Linked DNA regions of Homo sapiens: regions 1 and 3 are each linked to region 2. The links are contacts of gene promoters, found by promoter capture Hi-C in blood cells and fetal thymus (Javierre and others, 2016). All regions are on one chromosome and are shown on one strand. Each heading gives the region's core, a stretch centred on a gene start or on the middle of the fragment in contact. The rest is flanking DNA. Distances are from core to core; before and after follow the strand shown. Region 1 has its middle 23 kb from the start of TUBA1C. Region 2 holds the start of LMBR1L (limb development membrane protein 1 like). Region 3 overlaps TROAP (trophinin associated protein).

Evidence for each region. The method cuts DNA at HindIII sites, captures the fragments that hold promoters and counts their contacts. A CHiCAGO score of 5 or more calls a contact.
Region 1: a contact is called between a fragment that was not itself captured here and the fragment with the promoter of LMBR1L in region 2, in 11 of 17 cell types (neutrophils, total B cells, M0 macrophages and 8 more). The highest score is 13.5, in neutrophils.
Region 3: a fragment that was not itself captured here is called in contact with the fragment with the promoter of LMBR1L in region 2 in 1 of 17 cell types (neutrophils); the score reaches 5.7 in neutrophils.

What each region holds. Positions count from the first base shown.
Region 1 is chr12:49,239,907-49,244,633 of GRCh38, reverse strand. It overlaps a transcript of TUBA1C not described here. Among named protein-coding and RNA genes, the nearest start is that of TUBA1C, 23 kb to the left of the region's middle. The HindIII fragment of the contact is 3,939 bases long and covers 1,508-4,727 here.
Region 2 is chr12:49,107,982-49,112,796 of GRCh38, reverse strand. It overlaps LMBR1L (limb development membrane protein 1 like), which reads left to right and starts at 1,950. Exons shown (of 17, transcript NM_018113.4): 1 at 1,950-2,313. The coding sequence starts at 2,242. RefSeq lists a silencer at 1,204-1,384 and an enhancer at 2,242-2,781. The HindIII fragment of the contact is 30,486 bases long and covers 1-4,815 here.
Region 3 is chr12:49,326,403-49,331,255 of GRCh38, reverse strand. It overlaps TROAP (trophinin associated protein), which reads right to left. Exons shown (of 15, transcript NM_005480.4): 7 at 4,536-4,588; 8 at 3,926-4,047; 9 at 2,201-2,329; 10 at 2,012-2,095; 11 at 1,802-1,861; 12 at 1,265-1,399; 13 at 313-1,111; 14 at 1-42. Among named protein-coding and RNA genes, the nearest start is that of TROAP-AS1, 4.3 kb to the right of the region's middle. RefSeq lists an enhancer at 285-786. The HindIII fragment of the contact is 2,971 bases long and covers 1,790-4,760 here.

The DNA of each region.
Region 1 (4,727 bases), core at 2,228-4,727, 130 kb before region 2:
TGGGATCATGCCATTGAACTCCAGCCTGGGCAACAAGAATGAAACTCCATCTCAAAAGAAAAAAAAAAATACCTCTCTGGGAAAATTTGGTCATAATAGAATTTCTAAAAATAGGGAAGCTACTCAAATTACTTCCCTTAACTTCCTTCTTCCCTGGACATTTGAACATTTTGAAGATACCGTAGATATCTTCAAAAGACCACGACTATAGATGTAAATTCTTCTTAATCACAAGCTTTCCCATTTTTAGATGTTTCTTCTAAGAAGACATAGTCTCCCAAATCAGAAGGGAAACATCCATTTTGTGGTAAAAGATGGAGAAGGAGAAACATGACCAAACAATGTGTGGAATTTGAAAATGAAAATACTGTGGTGAGTGGTGAGGCCATTTAGAGCCCCATTTAGGGCCTTGCTGAAAATTCAGCTGTTTCTGCAGGCAATACATGTTTTAAAGCAGATTTTTTTTTCTTTTTTTTTTTTTTTTGAGACAGAGTCTCACTCTGTCACCAAGGCTGGAGTGCAGTGGCACAATCTCGGCTCACTGCAACCTCCACCTCCTGGGTTCAAGTGATTATCGTGCCTCAGCCTCCCGAGTAGCTGGGATTACAGGTGCCCGCCACCACACCCAGGTAATTTTTAAATTATTTGTAGATACGGGATCTCGCTGTGTGGCCCAGACTGGTCTTGACATCCTGACAGCAAGAGATCCTCCCACCTTGGTCTCCCAAAGCACTGGGATTATAGGCACGAGCCACCATGCCTGGCCTAAAGTTTTTCTTTTAATGAGATAGTATTACAAGTCTCAATTTCCAGGTTCTAAACCACCAAATGTACCCTTTCCTTAAAGGGAACTGCCTGAGAATGGTTTGCAATGAGCTGATTTTTCTTTTCCAGCCTCCCCTTCCCAAGTCCTCTTAGCCTTCACAGCAAAAAGATTGAGGCTGTAGTGAACCATGATTGCACCACTGCACTCCAGCCTGGGCGATAGAGCAAGACTCTGTCTCAAAATAAATAAATAGATAAAATAATAAAAATCAAAAACAAAAAGCTATCCCTTAGCCATCCTGAACTATGCTATGTGCGATGTTCCCAAGCAAAGGGATAATTGGAGAAGCATCATGACTGACGGAGGAGCTCCTGAGAGCCAAGTAAGAAGCACTCACAGGGTAGCACCTGATTTCTTTTTTTTTCTGGAGATGGAGTCTCACACTGTCACCCAGGCTGTAGGGCAGTGGTGCAATCTTGGCTCACTGCAACCTCTGTCTCCCAGATTCAACCAATTCTCCCGCCTTAGCTTGGCTAGTAGCTGGGACTCCAGGCGCGCGCCACCAGCTATTTTTTGTATTTTTAGTAGAGATGGGGTTTTCTCCATGTTGGCCAGGCTGGTCTTGAACTCCTGACCTCAGGTGATCCGCCCACCTTGTCCTCCCAAAGTGCTAGGATTACAGGCATGAGCCACCGCAACCAGCCTGCACCTTATTTCATCTTAACAAATTCACGGCAAGCTTCTTAGAATTGGAAGTCACGACCGGGCACGGTGGTTCACACCTGTAATCCCAGCACTTCCAGAGGCTGAGGCAGGCAGATTACTTGAGCCTAGAAGTTCGAGACCAGCCCGAGCAACATGTCAAAAACCCTGTCTCTATTAAAAATACAAAAATTAGCTGGGTGTGGTGGTGCATGCGCCTGTAGTCCCAGCTACTCAGGCCACTAAGGTGGGAGGATCAGCTTGAGCCTGGGAGGCAGAGGTTGCAGTGAGCTGAGATCACACCATTGCACTGCAGCTTGGGCAACAGAGTAAGACCCTGTCTCAAAACAACAACAACAGAATTAGAAGTCACAGATGAGCCAGGCGCGGTAGCTCATACCTGTATTCCCAGCACTTTGGGAGGCCGAGGCAGGAGGATTGCTTGAGACTAGGAGTTTGAGAACAGCCTGGGCAACACAGGGAGACCCTGTCTGTATAAATAACAACAACAACAAAAAAATTAGCTGGAAATTAGCTGGGTGTGGTGGTGTGCACCTTCAGTCCCAGCTACTCGGGAGGCTGAGGTGGGAGGATTGCTTGAACCTGGGGATTTGAGGCTGCAGTGAGCTAGGATTGTGCCACTGCACTCCAGCCTGAGTGACAGAGCAAGACCCCATCTCAACACAAAACAAAACAAAAACACACACAACACAAAACAAAAAAACAAAATAACTCCATTTGACTGATTGGTTTGGCCATGGGGACTGGTTTTGCTAGTTAAGTAATATTTTCTACAAATGGAAGGAGCTAGATCTGTGGCTCCAAACCACATTTTTTTCCTCATGCCACCTTGTCTAAGAAGGCTGTAAACTTTTGGCCGGGTGCAGTGGCTCACACCTGTAATCCCAGAACTTTGGGAGGCCAAGACAGGTGAATTGCTTGAGGCCAGGAGTACAAAACCAGCCTGGCCAACATGGTGAAACCCCATCTCTACCAAAAATACAAAAAATTAGCCAGGTGTGGTGGCGGGCACCTGTAATCCCAGTTACTCGGGAGGCTGAGGCAGGAGAATCACTTGAATCCAGGAGGCGGAGGCTGCAGTGGGCTGAGATCACGCCACTGCACTCCAGCCTGGGCAACAAGAATGAAATTCTGTCTCAAAAAAAAAAAAAAAGAAAGAAAGAAGGCTCTAAGTTTTGATGAAAATATGTATAAAGGCTGGGCACAGTGGCTCACACCTGTAATCCTAGCACTTTGGGAGGCTGAGGTGAGCGGATTGCCCAAGCTCAGGAGTTCGTGACCAGCCTGGGCAACATAGTAAAACCCAATCTCTACTAAAATACAAAAAATTAGCCGGGCGTGTCGGCGTGCGCCTGTAGTCCCAGCTACTTGGGAGGCTGAGGCAGGAGAATTGCTTGAATCCGGGAGGCAGAGGTTGCAGTGAGCTGAGATCGCGCCATTGCACTCCAGCCTGGGGGCAGAGCGAGACTCTCAAAAAAGGAAGGAAGGAAGGAAGAAAGGAAGGGAGGAAGGAAGGCAGGGAGGGAGGGAGGGAGGGGAGGAAAATATGTGTAAAGCATTTATCATACACCAGAAATTGCATGAATTGTAACTATTTCAAGTTCTGATGACCACTGCCTTAAACTCACACTCACATCATAATCACCCCATCTTACCTCCTGTCAGTCCCTTCAGGCTGAAGCAAACCACATTCATGCTCCTTGTCACTCTTCCAGGTCTATACCTTTGTATGTGGTCCTGCCAGTTCCTCCAATGGAAACACCTTTCCCTCCCATCTCAGTGTTGAATCCTACCTAACATTTGCCTGGTCTGAGGCACTAGTTAGGCACTGGGGGTGCAAAATGAACATGATAATCTTGGCCCCATTCTCATAAAATTTAAGTGTCTGGTATGGAAGACACAGATAAATCATATTATATATGGTATTATAAGAGCTAAGATGGGACCAGGCATGGTGGCTCAAGCCTGTAATCCTAGCACTTTGGGAGGCCGAGGCGGGCGGTTCACCTGAGGTCAGGAGTTCAAGACCAGCCTGGCCAACATGGTGAAACCCTGTCTCGACTAAAAATACAAAAATTTGCTGGCCGTGGTGGTGCACTCCTATAGTCCTAGCTACTTGGGAGGCTGAGGCGGGAGAATCGCTTGAACCCAGGAGGCAGAGATTACAGTAAGCTGAGATCTCGCCACTGCCCTCCAGCCTGGGTGACAGAGTGAGACTCCATCTCAAAAAGAAAAAAAGAGCTATGATGGGCTGGGGGCAGTGGCTAATGCCTGTAATCCCAACACTTTGTGAGGCTGAGGTGGGAGAACCGCTTGAACCCAGGAGTTCAAGAACAGCCTGGACAATGTAGTGAGAGTCCATCTCTACAAAAAAATAATAATAAAAAAAATTAGTCCAGTGTGGTGGTGCACGCCTGTAGTGCCAGCTACTCGGAAGGCTGAGGCAGAAGGACCACTTGAGCCCGGGAGGTCGAAGTTGCACTGAGCAGTGTTCGCACCACTGCACTCGAGCATGGGTGACAGAGAGAGACCCTGTCCCAAAAATAAATAAGTAGATAAAAGAGCCACAATGGGGAACTTGGAGGTGCTGCCAACTCACAGCAGGGGCACCCTGTGGGGGTCCAGGAAGTGGCCAGAAAGCCAAGACCCTCTGATAAGCCTGATATTTTGTGGGGAGAGGAGAGAAGAGGACTGATCTATACTGAAAACACAAAAATGAGTTGAATTGATATTTTTAAGGCAGTTCCTCTGTGGAATCAGGATTTCAATGTGAGGGACACACTTAACTCTAGGGTCCAGATAGAAACTACTGAATTTAGTGTTTCTTTCTTTTTTTTTTTTTTTTTTTCAGAGAATGGTCACATATTCTCAAAAGCCCAATTATAGAACAAGCTGAAAGTCAAGGGAGAGGTCATCTCCAGAAAAGTTTTCCCCTTGCTTTTTGCCAAACATAAATATTTGAATCCTGAGTTCAACTGCCAGGGGAGTGGGCAGCCTTTTTATATTGGCGTCCCCAAAAATAATGCTCAGAGAATGCTCTTGGGATGTCTGTGAGGAAAAAGGCAGGGTGTGTGTGTGTGTGTGTGTGTGTGTGTGTGTGTGTGTGTGTCTGTGCTCTGAGGGTGGAGGCACCCTCCTAGCAAACAAGCAACTGAAATAAGCAGAACAACAAGAGAAAACAGTTTCAAGGGACTGACTTGTGCCACACAAGTGGAATATCCCACTGCTCTACCTCCCG
Region 2 (4,815 bases), core at 701-3,200:
TTAGGGTCTCCCCGACCGAGCTGCTCTCAGCACCTGACTTCAGGTAATCCACCCGTCTCGGCCTCCCAAAGTGCTAGGATTACAGGCATGAGTCACCGCGCCCGGTCTTATGGCCAATTTCTTTTTCTTTTCTTTTTTTTTTTTTTTTGAGATGGAGTCTCGCTCTGTCACCCAGGCTGGAGTGCAGTGGCGCGATCTCGGCTCACTGCAAGCTCCGCCTCCCGGGTTCACGCCATTCTCCTCCCTCAGCCTCCCGAGTAGCTGGGACTACAGGCACCTGCCACCACGCCCGGCTAATTTTTTATGTTTTAAGTAGAGATGGGGTTTCACCGTGTTAGGCAGGATGGTCTCGATCTCCTGACCTCTTGATCCGCCCGCTTCAGCCTCCCAAAGTACTGGGATTGCAGGCGTGAGCCACCGCGCGCGGCTAATGGCCAATTTTTAACTGCTCACTGAACTATGCAGCTGGATGTTGCTTTAAGAATTTAGAGGAGGTCGGGTCTGTTGGCTCACGCCTGTAATCCCTGCACTTTGGGAGGTCAAGGCAGGCCGACAGCTTGGGCCCAGGAGTTCAAGACCAGACTGAGCAACATGGCAGAATCAGCTAAGTGTGCTGGTGCCTGCCTGTGATCCCAGCTGCTCAAGAGACTGAGATGGGAAGATCACTTGAGCCTTGGAGTTGGAGGCTACAGTGAGTCGTGATCGCACCACTGCACACCAGCCTGGGCGACAGAGTGAGACTGTCTCAAAAATAAATAACTTAAAAGAAAATCTCCCTTCGTCTAAATCCTGTCTACTTCCAAGACACACACACACACACACACACACACACACACACACACACACACACACACACACACACACAAAATCTTGGCCGGACGTGGTGGCTCACGCCTGTAATCCCAGCACTTTGGGAAGCCGAGGCGGGCGGATCAACTAAGGTTGGGAGTTCAAGATGAGCCTGACCAACATGGAGAAACCACGTCTTTACTAAAAATACAAAATTAGCTGGGCGCGGTGGCGCATGCCTGTAATCCCAGTTACTTGGGAGGCTGAGGAAGGAGAATCGCTTGAACCCGGGAGGCGGAGGTTGCAGTGAGCCGAAATCACACCATTGCACTGCAGCCTGGGCAATAAGAGCGAAACTCCGTCTCAAAAATAAATAAAGAAATAAAAGCTGAATCACAACATCTTCCTCTGAAGTGTTGTTGTGACGTTAAAAATGAGATAATAGGCTGGGTGGGTCACGCCTTGTAATCCCAGTACTTTGGGAGGCCCATCACTTTGAGACTAGGAGTCCGAGATCAGCCTGGGTAACATGGCTGAGATAACGACTATAAAGTGAATGGCACATAGTAAGTGGTTAGCTAATGTTTGACTCAGCCCCACTCTTCAGTGATCCTTGTGGGCATTTCTTCACAAAGTTGCAAGGTATTTCTGTAGTCCTCTCTCCAGTATTTTTCAGTATTTGTTCTAGCACACACTAGGTCTTCCACAAAAATGATTGAATGAAAACTCCTGGCAGCGGGAAAGCGGGGTGGGGATGTGGGGAGGGGCACCCCAACACAAACACACAGAAAATGCTACTACAGAACATCGGTTACTGGGCAGCGGTACATTTCAGAACCCCTAGGGTGCCCTCACATCCTGCCTGGCTGGCCTGCTTCAAACGGTTCATTTAACCAAGGTCATACTAAAATGTTGGCTGCTACTAAAATCCAGGAACCTTCACTTTTCCCAGATAAGAGAGACAGTTGCTCTATTAGTATGGGCAGCGGTAGGCCCAAAAGATCCCGCCTTCCTCCACAGGGCGAGCCTATCAGCGCTCCTCCAGCGATGAACGACAGCTCTCCAGGAGCCAATGAGTTCCTCCCCCTGGAAGGAACCCGCCCATCCCTTGTGTCGTCACTAGATCTCTTAAAAAGATGGACCCTCAGCGGCGCTTCCTCGTAGCGAGCCTAGTGGCGGGTGTTTGCATTGAAACGTGAGCGCGACCCGACCTTAAAGAGTGGGGAGCAAAGGGAGGACAGAGCCCTTTAAAACGAGGCGGGTGGTGCCTGCCCCTTTAAGGGCGGGGCGTCCGGACGACTGTATCTGAGCCCCAGACTGCCCCGAGTTTCTGTCGCAGGCTGCGAGGAAAGGCCCCTAGGCTGGGTCTGGGTGCTTGGCGGCGGCGGCTTCCTCCCCGCTCGTCCTCCCCGGGCCCAGAGGCACCTCGGCTTCAGTCATGCTGAGCAGAGTATGGAAGCACCTGACTACGAAGTGCTATCCGTGCGAGAACAGCTATTCCACGAGAGGATCCGCGAGTGTATTGTGAGTGCGGGGCCCCGGCGAGGAGAAGCGGGGGTTGCGGGAGACGGGGAGGTTGGGGTCCGAGCCCACCTGGTCTCAGAGTGCCGTCAAACCATGCCTGGGCCAGCGGCGGGCGACGGAGGCCTCCGTCCGGGCAGAAGGGCGGGTGCCCGGCTAGCGATCCCCTAGATGGGATCAGCTGGGTCCCTGAGCGATAAACAAAGGCCGTCGTTTCCGTTCCTCCCCCACACGCCCCTCCCCTGCCCCTCCCTCCCACCCCTCACCCAGCGCGTCTTCCTGTTGGGGGTCTCCGGGGTCTGAGAGCCTGCGGAGTCTGCCTTAGTCTGATAATCGGGGAAGGATGGGTTTGCTTCTCAAACTGGGTTGAGGGCAAACTCAGCTGACGTTGGATGAAGGGGAGACGTCGTCACACTGAGCTTGATTCCAGAAAAGAGGGGAGGTGTAGGGATGGCAGACGGGAGGAACCTGGGGACTTGGTGGGTCATCTGCTTTGGAAGAAAGGAGTCTTGCTGGGGTGGATCCTAATATGTAGAGATGAGGAACAACCAAGTATTCCCCCGTCTTTTTTCTTTCTCATTGGTGTTTGTTTGAAACCCTGCAAGGCTGGGTTCCCAGCCTCTCAGCCATTCCGGGGTTTCCCCAGTGAGTGGTCCTCCCAGGGCTTCAGAGGGTACCTGGCTGCTGTTCCTTACGCCCTCCCTGCCACTTAGAGCGACAACTGAACCTTGCGCACAGAAGTGGACTACTCAATTCTGGGGTAGGGGTACCCAGTGGAGCTTAGGGTGTCATATCTTTCTCAGCCTTGCTTTGAATTTTCACCTCTCTCCTTTCTCCTGTGTCCTTCCCCAGAGCTCACCAGGGCAACCCTCATCTCCAGATAGTAAATGGAAAGGGAATGGTTTGGAAAAACAGAAAGAAATGTTAGTAAGTGTGGGAATCCATTGTTGGGGTCATTCCCTTCATTTTTCTCAGGCTGGGCTCTAGCCAGCCCTGGGCAGCCTGATTGGAGGAGGGGTAAATTGAGCCAGGACATAATTAGGTCTGCTCTTATCTGTGAGGACAGGAAAGTATATTAGTCTGTGTGTGCAACTCCAGTAGAAGTGTGCTTTCGGCAAGCCTTCCTTGTGTGTTTCTTGGTGGACAGTCCACATGGTGGGTTGGGCATATTGCAGAGGCACACCCAGGCCTTGAGACAGTGTCGGGCTGGAGGCTCAAATTCCTAGAGAACAGGGAGGGATGAGACCTTGGACAGAAGCAGCCTCCTGGATGTCTCCCTAATCCTTTAGTCCCATGAGCTGAGAACATCAGTGCTGGCTAAGGGTAGCCTGAAGACTTATGGTGCCTCCCCCACCTGGCTCTCATCTAGAGGCTAGAGAGCAGCCTAGCTTCTTGGAACTGCGTGGAACTCCAGCCTGACCTTTTGAGCCCTCCCACCTTCCTGGCTATTACGCAAGCCCAGAGCAGAACACAGGCTATAAAAATCTTGCAGCTACAATCTGAGTGGCTCCTTCTGTTCTGCTTCCCTAATATCAAAAGCTATGACTTTGTTCTAGATCGATGGCTCTCCTGCGTCTCTGTGGATTCTTCCCTCCTTGTACAGATAGCTGTATGTGTTTTCCTTGTGGGGTCAGCCCTTTCTGGAGACTGGAAGACCCATGAGACTGATCTTGTATTCTTGGCCTATCTCAAACACAATAACTTCTCTTCTTGAGACTCTCTGGTGTTTTTTTTGTTTTGTTTAGTTTTGTTTTTGACCTAGTCTCACTCTGTCGCCCAGGCTGGAGTGCAGTGGCGTTATCTCTGCTCACTGCAACCTCCGCCTCCCAGGTTCTAGTGATTCTTGTACCTCAGCCTCCCGAGTAGCTGGGATTACAGGCACCTGCCACCACACACGGCCTTTTTTTTTTTTTTTTTTTTTTTTTGAGACTCAGTCTTGCTCTGTTGCCAGAGCTGGAGTGCAGTGGCACAATCTCGGCTCACTACAACCTCCGCCTCCCGGGTTCAAGCAATTCTCCTGCCTCAGCCTCTCAAGTAGCTGAGACTACAGGTGCATGCCACCACGCCTGGCTAATTTTTGTATTTTTAGTAGAGACAGGGTTTCGCCATGTTGGCCAGGATGGTCTTGATCTCTTGACCTCGTGATCCTCCCGCCTCGGCCTCCCAAAATGCTGGGATTATAGGCGTGAGCCACTGCGCCCAGCCAATTTTTGTAATTTTTTTTGAGATGGAGTCTTGCTCTGTCACCCAGGCTAGAGTGCAGTGGCGCCATCACAGCTCACTGCAACCTCCACCTCCTGAATTCAAGTGATTCTCCTGCCTCAGCCTCTTGAGTAGCTGGGATTACAGGTATGCACCACCACACCCAGCTAATTTTTGTTTTTTTAGTAGAGATGGGGTTCCACCATGTTGGTCAGGCTGGTCTTGAACTCCTGACCTCATGATCCTCCCACTGTGGCCTCCCAAAGTGCTGAGATTACAGGCGTGAGCCTCAACGCCCAGCCC
Region 3 (4,853 bases), core at 2,026-4,525, 220 kb before region 2:
GCTCCCTCAGGGCTAGGGTTCGAGGGGCCAGATTGCTGAGGCCTGAGGGGCATGGAAAATTTAGAGGGAGGTCTGGGGTCCTATACTTCCACCATGTACTGTCCTCTCCTCCTCCCCCACCAACGGCCAAGCCAATTAGGAGCACAGGGCTGGAAGTGCAGCCCCTCCCCTCTTCCTGAGGGAGAGCCAGGCTGGGCCAGGGTGGAAGGTGTGGAAGCATGAGATTGCCTGGGGTAGGGGCAGGGCAGGTGTGCAGCTCACAGTGAGGTGAGGACCTCTTGTGTTCACACTCCTTCCCAGCCAACTCCTTACCTGCCTGGCCTGCTGGGGGTCTCAAAGACTGGAGTGAGCAGATAGGGGGGCTGGCACAAAGCGGGTGTTGGGAAGAGAAGATCAGGCTGGTGGTTGCTGGAGCCCACTGACTGCAGCAGGGTGGTAGACTGGACTCTAGACTTCTATGTTCCAGGGTGCAGGGCTCTGATGCCCCCAGCTCTACCCTAGGGCAGGGCCCTGGGGGTCCAGACTGCCCCTGGGTGCTGGGCTGAAGGGGCCCGGGTTCTGCTGGAGGGCAGGGCTCAGGTACCTCAAGCTGTTCCTGGCGAGAGGACTCCGGTATCTCAGGCTCAATCCTACAGTAGGACTCTAGGGGCCTGGGTTCTGCTGGAGGGCAGGGCTCAGGTACCTCAAGCTGTTCCTGGCGAGAGGACTCCGGTATCTCAGGCTCACTCCTACAGCAGGACTCTAGGGGCCTGGGTTCTGCTGGAGGGTAGGGCTCTGGTACTTCAAGCTGTTCCTGGAGGGAGGGCTCTGGTATCTCAGGCTCACTCCTACAGAAGGCCTCTGGGGGCCCAGGCTCTGCCGGAGGGCAGGGCTGTGGTTCCCCGCACTCCTCTGGAAGACAGGGCTTTGGCAGCCCTGAGTGTTTTAACAGTCCAGGAAGGTGGGAAGTCCCAGAGTTATGCTCTGTGGCATTCAGAGTTCTAGAAATCTCAGTCAGCAGGGGCTGAAGTTCAACCATATCCAGAGAAGAGCCTCCATTAAGAGGGACACACTGGCCCCCTACCAGCCCCTCTACTTCCTGTCTCAACAGCTGTTGCAGGATACCGATGCGCTGTGGTGGGAGAGAGCACCCCAGTGTGACATCAAGATGTGCGTTCAGTAGTCTACCCACACTGTCCTATTCCTGATCCCCCATCTCTTTTCCCTCTTCCTCAGCCCAGTCACTGTTCAATAGACATCAAAGCTGTTGGCCACACAGACTCACTTGAATCTTCACCTCCTGGAGGCTGGGGGTTCTGTTAGAGTGGGGTCCAGAAGGAGTGGCCACCGGTGGTTTCCCAGAACCCTCCAGTGACCTTATACAACTCTCCTGGTCAAACAACCGGACGGCAACCTGCTCCTGTCACCAAGGAACAAGGCACACAAGCAAGCCAGGCTGGGGCAGGAGAAAGACCAGCCTGAGTCCCACCCTCATGAGGAATGGATTGAAGCCCCTAACTGAGAGGCCCTAGATGTACATTAGGAGGGGCAGCAGAGAAGCAGTGAGAGTTAGGCAGCTTTTCCAGAGAGCACTTTCTAATTTTTAAAATTTTAGTGGAGACAGGGTCTCACTATGTTGCCCAGGCTGGTCTCAAAGATCTGAGCTCAAGCAATCCTCCTACCTCAGCCTCCCAAAGTGCTGGGATTACAGGTGTGAGCCACCATGCCTGGCCCAGAAAGCACGTGTGCCTCAAACTCCTGGGCCTCCAGGCTGGCAGCACAGGGCAAGGGATCTCAGTAGGGGGAAGCTTCTGATACTTACCCAGGGCAGGGCAGGATCTTCAGAGCAGGACTGAGGGGAGACACCACGCAGCCACTGGGCCTGGCACAGAAGTGAGATGTCAGCAAGGGCTGACACCCACAGATGGCACTCAGCCTCCCCTTGCTTCTGTCTTCTCTCTCCTGTACCCATCCATCTCCTTTCTCCCCTAGCTGTGACTTATGCCAGCCACCTCTCCATGCCCTCTCTTACCTGCTGAACTCTGGGGGTTGATGGCATGGGTGTGAACCGGGTTTTAGGTTGAACGGTGAGACGCCGCAACACTGAATATGAGGTCTGGGGAGAGATGTGGGTGGCTGAGCAGGGACAAAACCCAGACATAGCAAGGATCTCCGGCCAGACTGTTCTGCCCCTGCCCAGCCCCCAGTTGTTGACACAAACCAGAGTTGGAGGGCCTGGGGAGGGTACACGCTGAGCCCGTCCAAAGGGTGATGGACATGGCACCACATGGCCAGGCAAGGGCTGGGCCACAGGGGCAGGGGAGGGCATCAGGTGGGAGTCATGGCTGTCCTGTGAAGAAGAAAAAGGTGGAAGAGTGATCCCCGCCCCCTTTGTCTTCCTATTTTTTTTTTTGATACGGAGTCTCGCTCTGTCACCCAGGATGGAGTCCAGTGGCGCGATCTTGGCTCACTGCAAGCTCCGCATCCCGGGTTCACACCATTCTCCTGCCTCAGCCTCCCGAGTAGCTGGGACTACAGGTGCCCGCCACCATGCCCGGCTAATTTTTTGTATATTTAGTAGAGATGGGGTTTCACCATGTTAGCCAGGATGGTCTCGATCTCCTGACCTCGTGATCTGCCCGCCTCGGCCTCCCAAAGTGCTGGGATTACAGGAGTAAGCCACCACGCCTGGCTGTCTTCCTATATCGTGTTCTCACTACAGCAGCCAGTGTGATTCTTTTAAGACCTAAGTCAAGCCGGGCATGGTGGCTCAGGCCTGTAATCCCAGCACTTCGGGAAGCCGAGGAGGGTGGAGCACCTGAGGTCAGGAGTTTGAGACCAGCTTGACCAACATGGAGAAATCCTGTCTCTACTAAAAATACAAAATTAGCCAGGCGTGGTGGTGCATGCCTGTATTCCCAGCTACTCGGAGGCTGAGGCAGGAGAATCACTTGAACCCAGGAGGCAGAGGTTGCAATGAGCGGAGATCGTGCCATTGCACTCCAGCCTGGGCAACAAGAGTGAAACTCCATCTCAAAAAAAAAAAAAAAAAAAAAAAAAAAGACCTAAGTCAAATCATGTCACTTTCTTGATCAACCCCTCTCCCCATGGCTTTCCACTCATTCCAAGACAAGCCAAAGACTTACACTGGTGTACAATTCCTTACCCAATCTGATCGTGTTATCGCTAAAACCCTATCTCCTACTGTTCTTCTTACTCTGCTTCAATCTCACTGGCCTCTCCTTTTTGCTGATCCTCAAACACACCAGGCACATTCCCTCCCCAGGGCCTTTACCTCTTCAGTTCTCTTGGCCTGGAATGTTCCTTCCCCCAGATATCAACATATCTCACTCCTCCTCCAACCCCTGGTCTTCACTTAAACATCATCTTCTCAGTAAGAGTTCCCTGACAAATCTATTTTAAATTGCAATACCAACTCCCCTGCTCCCAATTCTCCTTTAGTGCCTTATTATTATTATTATTATTATTTTAGAGAGAACTTACCATCATCTGAGACACTATTTATTTTATACCTGTGTTTATTTCTTGTCTCCCCCTTCTAGAATATGAACTTGTTTACTGCTATATGTCCAGAGCCTAGAACAGAGCCTGGCACTCAGTAGGCTGGTGCTACTCAGTAAATATTTGTGGAGCCAAGGGATGAATGCTTTTGGCTGACAAGTGTCAGATCTGTCTCACCCTTAGCACTGATCTGATGGTGATACAAATATGACCTCTCACCCTAGGCCCCAGACATCTGATAAAGAGAGGTCAGTCTCACATTGGAGAGGGACTGGGTGCATCTGGGGTAAACCTACCCAGTAACATCCTGAGGCCCAGGACTTCCTGGCTCTACCTACAATTCTCAGTGTTGGCTGCTGCAGCAAAATTCTTCCAAGCAACTCCTGCACCTCCCACCCACCATCCCAGGAGAGTCGCATCTCACCCTGGTATGTGACATTTCTCGGTTTTCTCTTAATGGTACTCGCTGGGCCAGACCAAGAGAGGCCACACCTCCTTCATCTGAGTGAGTGACAACCTCGCGTTCTCCTTTAGGAAGAGAGAAAGCTAGGAAGAAACAGGACATTTGTTGTAGACTCTAGAACACCCACCAAAGTTTGGCACAGTGTTCTGCAACTTCTGAAGAGGGTATATTAGTTTAATAGGCCCCATTGCACTATTAGGGACAGGAACCCATCCAGCAGCCCCTCAACACCCAACACTATCTCAGTAAACACTTATTAATCTGAACGTCTGAGTAGGCTGGGGATGTGGTGATGGCACTTAGGGGCTGGGGATAAACAGTGAGTGGAAGATAAATCTTGCAGGAAGTGGCAGAGAGAGGGCCGAAATGGAGACCATCTCCTTAGACAAAAGTGCAACTGTGCCAATCGCTGGCCTATCTAGAAGGTCTCTTCTCCTTCTCCTTCTGACCTAGCCTCCCGGCCTCCCACTTCCTCATGCTCCCTCCCAGCCTGCTGAGTTTTCTCTGGTCTTGTTCCCTGCTTCAGGCAGCCCAACTGCCCCTGTTCTCTCCCCACGCCAGAAACACTTACCAGGCTGGACTGGGGTCTCCAGGAGCAATCCTGAGGCCTGGCTCACTGAAGTCCTGATGACAATAAGGACATTAGCCAGCAGTCACTGAATACCAAGTATGAGCTGGACATGTGCTAAGTGCTTTACAAACATCATCTCATTTCATTCTCATGACAACTAATGATGGTACAAATGTTATTCTCACTTGACAAAGAAACCAAAGCTCAGAGAGGTGAAGGCAAGCTTGCACAAATAGTAAGTGTTAAGAGTTAGGATATAAACCCAAATCCCACTTATTGCCACAGTCTATACTCTAGCCACTAAACAAAAGAGATAGC